Linked DNA regions of Homo sapiens: all the other regions are linked to region 2. Evidence: promoter capture Hi-C in 16 types of primary human blood cells and fetal thymus (Javierre and others, 2016). All regions are on one chromosome and are shown on one strand. Each heading gives the region's core, a stretch centred on a gene start or on the middle of the fragment in contact. The rest is flanking DNA. Distances are from core to core; before and after follow the strand shown.

Region 1 (4,922 bases), core at 1,194-3,693, 530 kb before region 2:
TCAGTTCAATCATCTTTGCCTTAACTCCTCAAAATGAGTGAAGATTTTTTTATCCTTTATTTTTACATAGAGAAAAGGAATCAGAATGATGTAAATTTCAGATATTATCCCATCCCCCTAAACTATGTACTGCTATTCTAGTCAAACCTAGAAAGTGAAAAATTCAGTAGGCTTGGTTTAAGTCAGTAAGATCAACACATTCTGCTCTGGTTTCATCTTTTATCCCCTGCCTTGTAACCCTCAGCATGAATTAGTGATAAAAACAGATTGTACTCGAAGTCTAGTGCTTTTTTCTTAAATCTGTCAGTTAATGAGACAAATGACCCACTATGAAGAAGTAATACGTAGAACATGTTCCCATAGGAAGAGCTAAATAAGATACTTCCTATAATGTTTCTTTGGCATAATTTTGACTAGATTGATTACAATTTATACTTTCTATGGGGGTAGTAAGAAGTGCTAAAGTAGTCTGGAAAAGAGTCTAATTATTAATTGATAAATTAACATATTTATCAGTAATGACACCTGCTATGTGCCATAAGCCTCACTAGGTGCTAGACCCACTGAAATGATAAATAATAAAGCAAAAATAAGTTCACTACGCTCTTGGGAAGAAGGAGGCAAATGGATTATAGTAAAATAGACTATAAGCATTATAAAAGAGGTATAAAGGAGAGACAAATAAGATTGTCTGATAGATGATCTGCCTAGGGGTTCTCTTCAGATCCCTAGGAAAAAGTCAAATGGGACTGGTGGCTCTTCCTCCCTATAGTGGGAGACACTTTGCATATCAGCACTGTATGCAACCTCCCTGGGCATCAAGTCACATCAAGTTTTTCTCCTCTTGCAAGCCCTCTCTCTGCTGTCACCAAATCAGCTGGGTGCTGTCTATTTGCTTCCAAAGATCCTATTTAAAAAAACAAGGGGAGGTACTGGGGAGCAGTGAGGGCAAGCTACACCTGCCTCCTCATGGGATGCTGTAAAGCTGAAGAACCATGAACATCCTGCCCCTTCTCCTTCTGCTCCTGTGGAATTCTTGGGGTTTATCTCAGCCTTCCCTTGACAAACAGGAAAAATGTGTTATGAGAGCTCAGAGGAGAGAGTAGTTTGTTCTGTCCTGAAGGAAGTTTATGGCTTCAGAGAAGTAAGAGGTACACAACACAGTGGATTGAATTCAAAGTATGCCAAATTATTTTGTGAACTTCTTGAACATTGGATGAATTGCATTCTCTGTAACTCACAAATAAATATAAACTCTGGTATTATTGGGGCCCAGAAGAGCTGGAATAAGTCAGTCCTACTAATTACTAATATTACTTTGCTCACATCCATATATTTCTACTTTAGCTATAGTTATTGTCCCAAAATTATTCTTTTTGTTTGTTTTAGGAGATGTGGTAGAGACTGTCTATCTGTTCACCAGTCTTAGGCCCTCTCCCTGGCACCAAGAAGACTACATTTCCCAGCCCTTGTTAAAGAAGATGGCAAATATAGAAACTTCTATGGATGTTTCTATACAGTTAATATTTGACTGGATATTTATTTTCCATTAGCCCTTTTACCTTAAATTTGCTACGTTATCTCAAATTGTAACTTGATATTTTACCTTGAATTATTAAAGCCATAAAACTGAGTTCTACTTGGTGAAATGTGAGCAGAAAGGATAGCCACCAGTTCTAGGCCTCGCAATAAGACATCCTAATTGTTCTCTCTTCTCCACCCTCTTCCTTCTAGAAGGAGCACTGCTGGAAGCAAAAGAACTTGACATTGCAAAGGCACATGAAGGAATTACCAAGAAGAGCCATGCATCTCACACTGGCATTTTTATGAGTGATCATAAAAGCCATTGAGATGTGGGAATTATTTGTTAGAGTCCCTAGGAAATTTTATCCTGATGAATACAAAGACACTGATATAAATTTAAATTTCTTTCAAAAAGAAATAGTTCCTTATTTCATCTCTAAAGAGATATGGATCCATCCTGGAAAAAAAAAAAAACAGGGCAATTTCTCCGTCACAATGCAGTCTTACTTAGTTCCCATATTAGACAGAGGTTATCTCTCTAACCCTGTGATGTTCTTTGAGATAGAGCTGACTGGAAGAGAAGATATAAGCTATAGATGAGAACAATATGTGAAAAGCTTATTTCAGGCACAGCTTGGGAGACGAAATGCCAAAAACAACAAGAAAAAGGGAGGTGAAGGCCAAGAAGCAGGAAAAGAATAAGTGATGGAAAATTTTACAATGGATAAAAAAACTTCGTGAAATCAATTTGGCCACGCAACATGTATTTTCCATTCATTTGCTTTGACTCAATTTAGGGCTACATCCCATACAGACATAAATGCTTTGAGGTTAAAATGGGCCAATCATCAAGTATTAGTCAGAATTCTAAGAAAATATAATGTACAGCTCTAAAAAGCATACCTGTGGTTACCTGGGATTCAGGCAGGAGGTGTGAATTTAGTACATACCAGAAAAAATAGACGCATGAACTCACAGAGCCAGTTTCCCTAAAGGACCACATAGCTACCTATGAAATAATTCATCCTATGAGGAGAAAGTTTTGTGATGCACAAATTTGACATACAAACAGTTGGACAGAGCTAGCAGAAATACTACTTTAATTATGGCTGATGCCTGACACTCATATTGTACTTTGATGAAGGTCCAGAGTCTGAGGGAGAGGAGAGAGCAATAAAATGTATGACAAACACTAAGAGGGCAAACTCCCTGAACATTCTGTGAAGCTTCCAGAACACATAGGAACAGTGTATCATTCAAGAGATGGTAAGACATTCTTCCCACATGGAGTTAGGATTCAACACTGATAGAACCAAGCCCACTGAATTGAAAATCAGATCAGTCTACAGCTAGAAAGAAGAATTGGAAGAGGTGTTTGCCTCATTAAATATCACCAACACCATTAGCAAACATTTACAGCAGCCTAATTCCTTATGGAAGAAGGGTGGTCTTGGATGGTCTCCCATGGAATAATGTCCTTCTTCCTACCCAGGTTCTCATTATTTGAGAAATAAAATTAAAAGATTGAGGTGGAAGCCAAAATATTACTGATACATGTAGGTCAAAGAACACAGCATTGGGAAAGGGTCAAAGGGGCTTGCTCATTTAATGTAGAATTAGACCAACTCACTATCCAGTGGCAGGTAATGTTAGACTGGGGCAGAGTTCCCATTTGAGGGGCTTCCCATGTGCAGAGGAAGAAAAGTAAAATCATGCTTCTTCCTAAGAAGAAGAAGGAGGCAGAGAGCCTGGCTGAGTGTGACAGGAAACTGGAATGGGGAATAGAAGAGAAAGATAATGAGTAATAGTTGTGGCCTCAAGATTAAACACAGTGGTGGTGTTGGTGAAGTACTTCATTCCACTGACCTCTCATAAGATTTCCCCAGAAAAAAAGTTCCTCCAGAACCCAACAACAGCTGTTTCCAGATGGATTTGAACTCGCTATATAAAGCAATAATATCTAGAAGATACAAAGAGTGGATGGTATTGTATACTGCAGTACACAATCTCCCTTTAGAACTGAGGTGCTCTACCTCCAAGCATCTGGGAATTTTGACTGCTAACATCTCACTGATTAGTTGTATTCCAGGAATTGCCTTTGGCTTGTGGACGCTGCCTTACCAGGTTTACATCTCCTCTTTGATAGCAGCCTGTAGTCAGTGAGTGGTCAGATCACAGTCCAAAGATCTAGCCCCCTTGTCTCAACTGGGTCAGTTCTGAAGAGCCATTCCAGTTCCAAAGCTTCTGCTAGAATCATTTGAGATCTCTGATGAATACATCATATATTTAAGATTTATTATGCATCTACTTCCAAAACATGAGTTTATCAGGTTATAAACTTAGCATATTATATAATAAAAGAGTTAATTAAATAAGGCAAAATAATCTAAAATGGAGATTTGTTCATTATTTATAAAAAGTATTTATTCAGGCTATTCTGCAAACAGGGCACTGGGTTAGGTGCTGTGATCAGTCAGCCACATATTCTGCAGTCAATATGACTACTGTTTGATCCAGAGATGGCATGTGCACAGCTAAGTATAGCATAAGAAGAGAAAAAGCCCATACGGTATTCACAACTGTAATAGATATCCTTTCTTTGATTCCAGAACAGCACTATTAGATAGAAAAAGGTGTTACTATTCCTGCTTTATAGACAGTAAATCAAGGTTGAGCAAGGTAAAGCAATTTACCCAACTAGCAGAAAATGTACTTTTTACCTTAAATCCATTGTTTATTTATTCCATTATGACAAATATTATTTGTTTGGATGATTTATTTGGAGTTGGGCTAAGGAGAAATATAACTGATGCTGATTTGAGGTAAGAGTGTTACCAGTTATCCAAATAGATGAGATAATATCTCAGTGAACATCGAAAAGCCTCTAAAGGACATGGGTTTTATACCAGCTAACCATTTTGAGAATTTGATTCATCTTGCTTGATATCCTTAATTATCTTTTCAAATGTTTTCAAAATATTCAATGTCCCTGGGTTATGCTGGATACAATTTGCTAAATGTATCTTTCAAGCTTCATAGATTAGAATGATGACTTAGTTATTTGCAGACTCACTCCCTAAGTATTTCCACAATTTTGAAACTGCGACTTCAGGGAAGGATGTCTGTTTAGTAGTAATCAACTCTAAAAATAAAGAGCACAGAATTCTCTTTCCAAAACATTGAATTGCAAAATTAGGCTTTTGACGAAGACCCTGCAGCGGCAGGTGAATCATCAAATGGAGAAGGTTTACTTGACTTCTCAAGAGAATTTTAAAAAGAGTATAAAAACAAAGTGGAAAAAAGAAAGAAAGAAAGAAAAAGAATGGCCGGAGGATTGTCTATTCTGGAGTTAGGCTAAGGAGAAATATAACTGATGCTGATTTGAGATAAGAGAGAAT
Region 2 (4,280 bases), core at 308-2,807:
ACTTCAACATTTATTAGAAGCCTCTATCCATGTATTAACTCGATATTTACTAGGAGCTTCCATCAATTTATTGAATTCATCCATTTATTACTAATATGTACCAAATAATGTTAGACAGTAGGATATGAGGACACAGATCTATGGTGTTTCAGTTTTGTGGATGCAGGCAAATAAACTATAAAGGGAAGTAATATGGTACTGAGTGCTCTGACACAGGTATGAATAGAGAATGTGGGGATAGGTAATTGTAGCCATTTCTTTATAATGTGTGTGCTTGGGGTGAGATTCAGGAGAATACTACGGGGTGAAAACATTGGTGGAACAGAAAAAAATTTCACAAACTAACAGTTGCAGAATGGCTACAGATCATATCGGAAATGAACCACACACTTCTGTATCTGTAGTCCTCTGCGTTGTGAAAAGATTGACTTTTTTCAAAACAGGTCAAGGAATTTGGTTATGTCAAACACAAAGTTGCCTCTTTTTTCCTTCTGACATGGTAAAAGAAAAAAAACAATCCCATAGGATGTGTTTGGTTGGCCATAGTATATTGAACTTATCTTAACCGTCTCAAAACGCATGTCAAGGACACCACTGAGACTTCTGAGTACCATTTAAAAAATTGGGTAGTCTGGAAGTGTTCTAAATTGGACCGTTTGGGGTTTCTGTTAGGGCAACTTTCCCATTTACATCTTGGAACACAGCCTTTTGAATATAGCCCTTCGGGATTGGCGGGGAGAAGGGACCGCGATGGAAAAAGTCATCATCCAAAGAATGAAGAGGGAGGATCCAACATTTAGGATATTTTATTGACTTGCTAGGCGCGTTTACCTTATCTTCGTATTAACCCCATTTTCTTCATTAACCAATTGATGCTGTGAGAAGCTATGTAACTTGACGAGCAGTGCCCAGAACTGTTTTTTTTTTTTTCTGGACTCGGTCTTTTCCACTCAAAACCAACAAAAAACCAAAACTCGTTCTTTTCCACATCAAAAGCAAACAAAAAACCCCAACCCCAACCCCAAGAGCCCCACTCTTTCAAAAGGGCTTCTCCGGATCACTAAGTCCTAGAGGTCTTTGGCTAGGCCTGGGTCCGATCTAAATAGGAAGGTAATTCTAGTGTTCCGCAAATCCTTGCCGAATTCCATCCCGGCCAAAGCAGGGACCCGGGGGAGCCTCTGGTCGCACCCGAGACAGTTCGTTAAATACTCAGTGCACGTGCTGGGGATGGAAGTGCTGACCCACTGCTCAGGTACGCGCGCACCTGACGCCGCTTGGTGCGCGCCGCGGGGTACTGGGTACGTGCTCCGCGCGCGCGCGCCCGGCAAAGTTCCCCGTACGTGCGCCGTACGTGGGCGCGGTGCCCCAGCGCTCAGCGTTTCAGCGAGTGAGTGGGCTCCGTGCCCAGCTGAAGTCTGGGAGGGGCACTTTTCCAGGCGGTCGCGGCTCCCCCTGGCGGCGGATGTGCCTCGCTGGAGGGGCGCAGTCAGGCGTTCTCCGCGGGCAGCCGGCGGCGGGGCCTTGCCTTACAGCGCGGGGTCCTCGGCGGCCTGGGTGGCTACTGCCCCTGCTGCTGTCGTAGGCGAGGACGGCTGTTAGTGCTGCTGCTGTTGGTTCGTCGCGGCGGCGAAGGAGGAGGAGGAAGAGGGCGAGGCGACAAGAGAAGAAGGAGGCAGGCGCGGCGGCAGCGGCGGCGCCCCGAGCCGGCGGAGGCGAGGGGGGGGAAGATGGCGGACGTGCTTAGCGTCCTGCGACAGTACAACATCCAGAAGAAGGAGATTGTGGTGAAGGGAGACGAAGTGATCTTCGGGGAGTTCTCCTGGCCCAAGAATGTGAAGACCAACTATGTTGTTTGGGGGTAAGTCCGGCATGGCTGTGGCCCAGGGGTGGCAGGGCAGAGTTGGGCGCCCCCAGGCGACCTCTTTCTTAACCCCTCCCCCCGTTTCCCCTGGGGATGGGATAAAACGGGTGTTCGGGGAAAAGAAAGTTTCTCTCTAGAGCAGAAGTTGCACTTTTAGGGTAAGGAAAGAAGGGGCGGAGCTCTAGAGCAGTTCATCACTTAAAATTTTTGAGAAGCCCAAAGGAAAGGTACCGTGGGAGTTTCTGACTTTTACAGTTAATTTTTATCAGTAGGTATGTGTACCAGCGAAGTGTGGGACTGGTGCGCAAGGGATACCTGAACATAGGTGCACAAAGGAGCACACCGTCTGGTGCCGTAGACGCCTCTTTTTGTTCTTTATTTTTTTTTTCTCTTTTCCAGGCTGCTATGTAACTATCTCCGCTGGTCTTTGCAACTCCTGGTTTATTTCATCTCCTTTCATTGTTGGGGTGGGGGTGATTCCTGTAGAAGAGAAAAGGGAATCAACCCTGAAGTTAGGACCGGAAAGAAATTTGGTGAATTTGGAAGAGTCATAAAAGTCTGTGTTAGAGAGGTCTTCAGGAGTTGGTGAAATGAGTGAGCTTTACAGATCTAAGAAATAGATGGTGCGTGTGATTTTTCGGAAGTGTATTTTAAAGGGAAATGTTTGGGAATGTTGGTCCATGTGAAGTTTTATCAGTTTAAGTCATTCAGGAAAACTTCTAGAGACGGCTCTAACAGTCATTAGGGGCCTTTTTAATGATGTCACTGTCATTGGTGCATCGCTTCTAGAATTAGAACCTTGAGCTACAACTTCCCTACTCATTTTGTTTCTTTGAATGGAAGCTTTATGAAGAGTCGATGAAAAACTAGGGAAATTTAGTTTGTTGGTTGGTATTTATTTATTTATTTTTGAGAGGGAGTCTTGCTCTGTCGCCCAGGCTGGAGTGCAGTGGCGCGATCTTGGCTCACTGCAATCTTTGCCTCCTGGGTTCAAGTGATTCTCTTGCCTCAGCCTCCTGAGTAGCTGAGGTTGCAGGCCCCCGCCACCATGGCCGGCTAATTTATGTAGTTTAGTAGAGATGTGGTTTCACCGTGTTGGTCAGGCTGGTCTCGAACTCCTGACCTCAAATAATCTGCCCGCCTCCACTTCCCAAAGTGCTTGGATTACAGGCGTGAGCCACGGCGCCCTGCCTATTGGTTGGTTTTAAAATTTTTTTGTCTTATGATTTAATTAGCTTTATAAAATGTTGATCAAATGACATTCTGAGTTTCTGGTATTTTACCCTTTCGAATAATTTGCATAGGTAGAATTACATGTGGTTGGATTTTTAGTGAATTTTTTTTTTTTTAGACAATGGCTAAGGAGTACCTAGGGTGTGAAGTGGTTCAATCTGAGGATTAAAAAAATTCCTAAGACTCTGGTTTCTACCTCAAAGGAGGTTAACTTAGTCTGAATAGAGGAGATTAAACAGATAAGTTGATGTGAAATGCTTTCTATAAGTTGATGTGAAATGCTTTCTACAATAGCTTTTGAAGACAGCAGTCACTTCTAGTTGGGGTTATTTAGGAGAAGGTTCCATAGAATTGTCTTTGGCAAGTTCACATCCAACAAAGTTTTCTTGAATGAATGAATGAATGAACAAACAAGCTTTAAAGAATAGGTAGGAATTCTCTGGGCTAAATGATGGGTTAAGTCTTCCAAGATGAGTGAACTGTATACTTAAAGGCTGTATGCTTAAAGGCATAAAGAACTGGAAAGTAAATGTGTTGACAGCAATCCAGTGAAGCCAGTGAAAAAGGAGTGCTTATCACAGTAGATTTTAAACTTTTTCAGCAGTTTATCACACCAAGAAATTGTTTTTATTTTCTATATGTGCACATGCACATGGAAATATATACACATATAAAACACTAAACAATACTTACTCTTCTTATTGTATGCAGTGCATTTTATTTTTCTGTTCTTTTCTATTCTGAAAATAGAAAAAATATGGTTGTTAACTATTTATTGGGTTTCATAGTACAATAATTGATGGTGTGTGGTTTGAAATACATTGGTTTAGAGGAAAAATGGGACTAGAAGGTAGAAAAGTAGGTTTAGGGCTGATTATAGTGGACCATATTCAGATGGATTCAAAGATATAGAAGGGGAAAGTGTAGAAGGAAGGGTAGGATTGGAATGAGGTAATATTAGTACCTGCATTAGAGATCTTGCACCGTTAGTAGACTACATTGTTTTATCACAGGTAGAATAGCATTTTGGTTTTACATTATTGGTCTAATTTGAGGGATGCCATAACAGTCATACCCCTGAAATTCAGTGTTGTGTTTACTGTAAGAATGTGAAGGATGTTGTTCAGCAGTATCTTATTTATCAAGAGCCATAGGATAAATTTCTTTTACATTTAGCACCAGTGAT
Region 3 (4,251 bases), core at 866-3,365, 550 kb before region 2:
AATAGACATAAAAGCAAAGCATTAGAAAGGACATGAAGAAAGTGGAGTTAATGTGTTTGTCAGCAATAACTGGCATGGTTTTGGAAAGAACAGAACATGTCAGGAAATCTTGAGAGATTTTTCTAAGAAAATTATATAATTAATGAGGAAAAGCAAAGCAAATAAGTCTCTATTGTTAGCCACCTCGATGTTTAGTAAGAACAAAAGCAAATGAAATCACTGGAATAGTGTTATTAGAAACTTGGAAAGTTAACAGTCATTTATTGAAGTTGCTCTCTAATATTTAAAACATACCTCTGTATTAGGCCATTCTTGCATTGCTATAAAGAAATACCTGGTACTAAGTAATTTATTTTTTTAAAAAAGAAATTTAATTGGCTCATGGTTCTGCAGGCTATACAGGAAGCATAGCACTGGCATCTGCTTCTGGATAGGTCTCAGGAAGCTTCCAATCATGGCAGGAGGTGACAGGGGAGCAAGTGTCTCACATGGTGCCAGCAGGAGCAAGAGAGAGAGGGTTGTGGGGAGGGAGGTGCCACACTCTTTTAAACAACCAGATCTTGAGAGAACTCACTCACCATCATGAAGATCCTCCCCCATGAGCCAATCACCTCCTACCAGGTCCCACCTCCAACACTGGAGATTACAATACAACAAGAGATTTAGAGGGGACACATATCCAAACTATATCAATTCTGCCCCTTGCCCTCAAGCCTCAGTTTCTTCTCACACTGCAAAATACAAGTGTCCCTTCCCAACAGTCCCCCAAAGTCTTAAGACATTTCAGCATTAACTCAGAAATTCAAAGTCCAAAGTCTCATCCGAGACAAGGCAAGTCCCTTCCCCTTATGAGCCTATAAAATAAAAAACAAGTTACTTACTTCTAAGACACAATGGGGGTACAAGCATTAGGTAAACATTCTCACTCCAAAAGGGAAAAATCAGCCGAAAAAGGGGGCTACATGCTCCATGAAAGTCCAGAACCCAGCAGGGCAGTCTTTAAATCTTAAAGCTCCAAAATTATATCCTTTGACTCCATGTCCCACATGGAAGGCACAATGGAGCAAGGGGTAGACTCCCAATGCCCTGTGGATGTTTAGGGTGCAGCCCAAGTAGCTGCTCTCACAGGTTGGAACTGAGAGCCTGTGGTTTTTCCAGGCACAGGGTTCAAGCTGCCAGTGGCTCTACCATTCTGGGATCTGGAGGATGGTGGGTCCCTCCTCACAGCTCCACCCGTCAGTGCCCCAGTGGGGACTCTGTGTGGGGGCTCCAAAGCCACATTTTCTCTCCACATTGCCCTAGTAGAGGTTCTCTGTGAGGACTCTGCCCCTGAAGCAGGCTTCTGCCTGGCTACCCAGGCTTTCTTGCACACCCTCTGAAATCTAGGTGGAGGCTGCCAAGCCTCATTCACTCTTGCACTCTCTGTGCCTACAAGGTTAACCACACATGGAAGCTGCCAAGTTTTATAGCTTGTATCTTCTGAGGCAGCAGCCCTAGCTGTATCTAAGACCCTTTGAGCTGAGTCTGGAGCCAGAGCTGCCAGGATGCAGACAGCAGTGTCCTGAGGCTGCACCTAGCAGTGGAGCCCTTGGCCAAGCCCACAAAACCATCCTCCTAGGCCTCTAGGCCTGTGATGGGAGGGATTGCCCTGAAGGCCTCGAAATGCCTTTGAGGCCTTTCCCCCATTGTCTGGGATATTAGCACTTGGCTCCCTTTTCCAAGTATCTCTAGTAAATGGTTGCTCCACAGCTTGCTTGAATTCCTCTCCCACAAAAGCTTTTTCATTCCCTATCACATGGCTAGGCTGGAAATTTTCCAAACTTTTTTTCTCTGCTTCCCTTTTAAATAGAACTTCCAACTTGAAGTCATTTCTTTGCTTTTACATATAAGTGTAGGTTGTCAGAAGCAGCCAGGCCCCATCTTGAACACTTTGCTGCTTAGAAATTTCTTCTGCCAGATACTCTAAATCATCACTCTGAAATTCAAACTACCACAGGTCCCTAGGGCAGGGGCATAGTACAGCCAGGCTCTTTGCTAAGGCATAACATGCATGACCTTTGCTCCAGTTTCCGGTAAGATCCTCATTGCCATCTGAGACCTCCTCAGCCTGGACTTCATTGTCCATATCACTATCAGCATTTTGATCATGACCATTTAACCAGTCTCTAATAAATTCTAAATTTTCCATCATCTTCTCGTCTTCTTCTGAGCCCTCCAAACTCTTCCAACCTCTGCTTGTTACCCAGTTCCAAAGCTGCTTCCACATTTCAAGTAACTTTATAACAGTTCCCCCCTCCTCAGTACCAATTTTCTGTACTAGGCCATTCTTGTATTGCTATAAAGAAGTACCTAAGACTAAGTAATTTATTTAAAGAAAAGTGGTTTCATTGGCTCACGGTTCTGTAGCTTGCACAAGAAGCATAGAGCTGGCATCTGCTTCTGGGGAGGTCTCAGGAAGCTTCCAATCATGGCAGAAGATGAAGGGGGAACAGGTGTCTCACATGGCAGGAGCAAGAGAAATAGTTGTAGGGGACAGGGGCCACACTCTCTTAAACAATCAGGTCTTGAGAGAACTTACTCACCATTGTGAAGACAGCACCAAGCTATGAGGGATTCTCCCCCATGATCCAATCACCTCCCACCAGGCCCCATCTCAAACATTGGGAATTACAATTCAACATGAAATTTAGAGAGAACACAAATCCAAACTATATCACCTTCCTTTCCAAATCCTCTACATGCAGATATTTGAGCACCTCCATCATTTTTGCATTTATGTCATTGTTATGTAACAGAACATTCTATCCCAACTCCAAATAATGTGTCAGTGTTCATTTAGCATAGCTCTCCATTTATTTGGGTTTGGGAATAAGGCACCTCCTTCCATACTTACGAAATTTTATTTGCAAAGCACAGTCTAGAGTCAGACATAACTACTCTCTCTTGTTGAAAGGATTATAAGTGATAGTGTGACATTAAATGAAAATAAATCCAATATGGAATAAGTATACCAGAGATAATATTATCAAAAGATTTCCTCAGTGCTTTCAAGAATGTCTTGGAACACGGGCCTATTATCAAGAACTTAACTGGTAAAATTAGATTTAGGGTGAATGAGGCTTATTGAATCACATAAGCTCAGTTCACTGAAGGTCCCACATACTATTTTCTTGTAAATTCTCAAATTATAGAAAGGAGGCAGTCAGTGTTGACTGAAAGATTGGAGCAGAGTGAGAAAAAGAAACTAGATTCTTATCTTGCTCAGTTGCACTTACTGAGATCATTGAAGTTTAGTGTGTTGCATATATTTGCTCTTATTAAAACCCATCATATTTCTTCACAACAAAATCATAAGCAAGTCTAAAATGTTTAAACTTTTCATTCACACGATATAAAGTTTTCACCAACCCTCTATACACATACAGAGAAAAATCCTTCTAAACTCACTTTTGTTGCAGCTTTTTCAAATTTTCAAATAAACTCTATGAAATTTAGCTGAAACACTTTTAGTAGCCTTATCTATAAACCTTGAAGACCAAGGAAGCTCTGAGTGGTTATGCTAATTCAACTAAGTCATTCAGAGTACTTTTGAAAGTTTGCAAAGCTTTGTGAGTACATATGGGATCCATTTTTCCATGATCCTTCAACATAAAACTGGTCTCTTACTAGAGACCAGTTTCTCCATTGCAGCCATTTGAACTTTCCAAGGGATGCTAAACACAAATGCAGAAACAAGCAAAGAATAGATACATGTTGATTTTACAGTAAAGACAGCAGTACTTTGCTTCCTTTCTCATACTTCCAGAGGTAATTACTCCTCTGTGTTCTTTTCTCTGTACATTCCTCTCTGATGGCACCTCTCACAAACATCTGTCAGCCCCACTACACAGTGAACCCCTTAAGACAGAGATTCATTCATCTTTGTATCTGCAGTGCTTTATGTGTGATACACTGTAGGGATGCAATTAAACTTTGTTGAATCGAAACATTTTGTTTCAATGGATCAAGCTATCTTTCCACGTCACTGACTTTTCCAGTATGGATACATTTTTATTTTAAAATAGAATATTATACTCATCATTACCCCTTGTCTCACAATTCTAATATCCACAATAAGATTTTAGCAACATTTTAAAAGTTCAAACAACATCAGGTTTAAGGAAAGCACTCCCTATTAGTATTCCAGTAATTGGAGTAATTGAAACCAAATGTTTCCATTCAAATCAGTTCAGCAAAGATTAAAATTTTCCT

Evidence for each region. The method cuts DNA at HindIII sites, captures the fragments that hold promoters and counts their contacts. A CHiCAGO score of 5 or more calls a contact.
Region 1: a fragment that was not itself captured here is called in contact with the fragment with the promoter of CDC73 in region 2 in 1 of 17 cell types (M0 macrophages); the score reaches 5.0 in M0 macrophages.
Region 3: a contact is called between a fragment that was not itself captured here and the fragment with the promoter of CDC73 in region 2, in 1 of 17 cell types (fetal thymus). The highest score is 5.1, in fetal thymus.

Annotation. Positions count from the first base shown.
Region 1 is chr1:192,585,381-192,590,302 of GRCh38, forward strand. All of the region lies in intron 3 of LOC105371664 (a long non-coding RNA gene), which reads right to left. Among named protein-coding and RNA genes, the nearest start is that of RGS1, 12 kb to the left of the region's middle. The HindIII fragment of the contact is 609 bases long and covers 2,140-2,748 here.
Region 2 is chr1:193,120,474-193,124,753 of GRCh38, forward strand. It overlaps CDC73 (cell division cycle 73), which reads left to right and starts at 1,558. Exons shown (of 17, transcript NM_024529.5): 1 at 1,558-1,858. The coding sequence starts at 1,728. RefSeq lists enhancers at 1,055-1,701, 1,606-1,675, 1,702-2,346, 1,946-1,995 and a silencer at 1,366-1,445. The HindIII fragment of the contact is 13,310 bases long and covers 1-2,702 here.
Region 3 is chr1:192,568,669-192,572,919 of GRCh38, forward strand. The region is part of intron 3 of LOC105371664 (a long non-coding RNA gene); the gene reads right to left. Among named protein-coding and RNA genes, the nearest start is that of RGS1, 5.0 kb to the right of the region's middle. The HindIII fragment of the contact is 682 bases long and covers 1,775-2,456 here.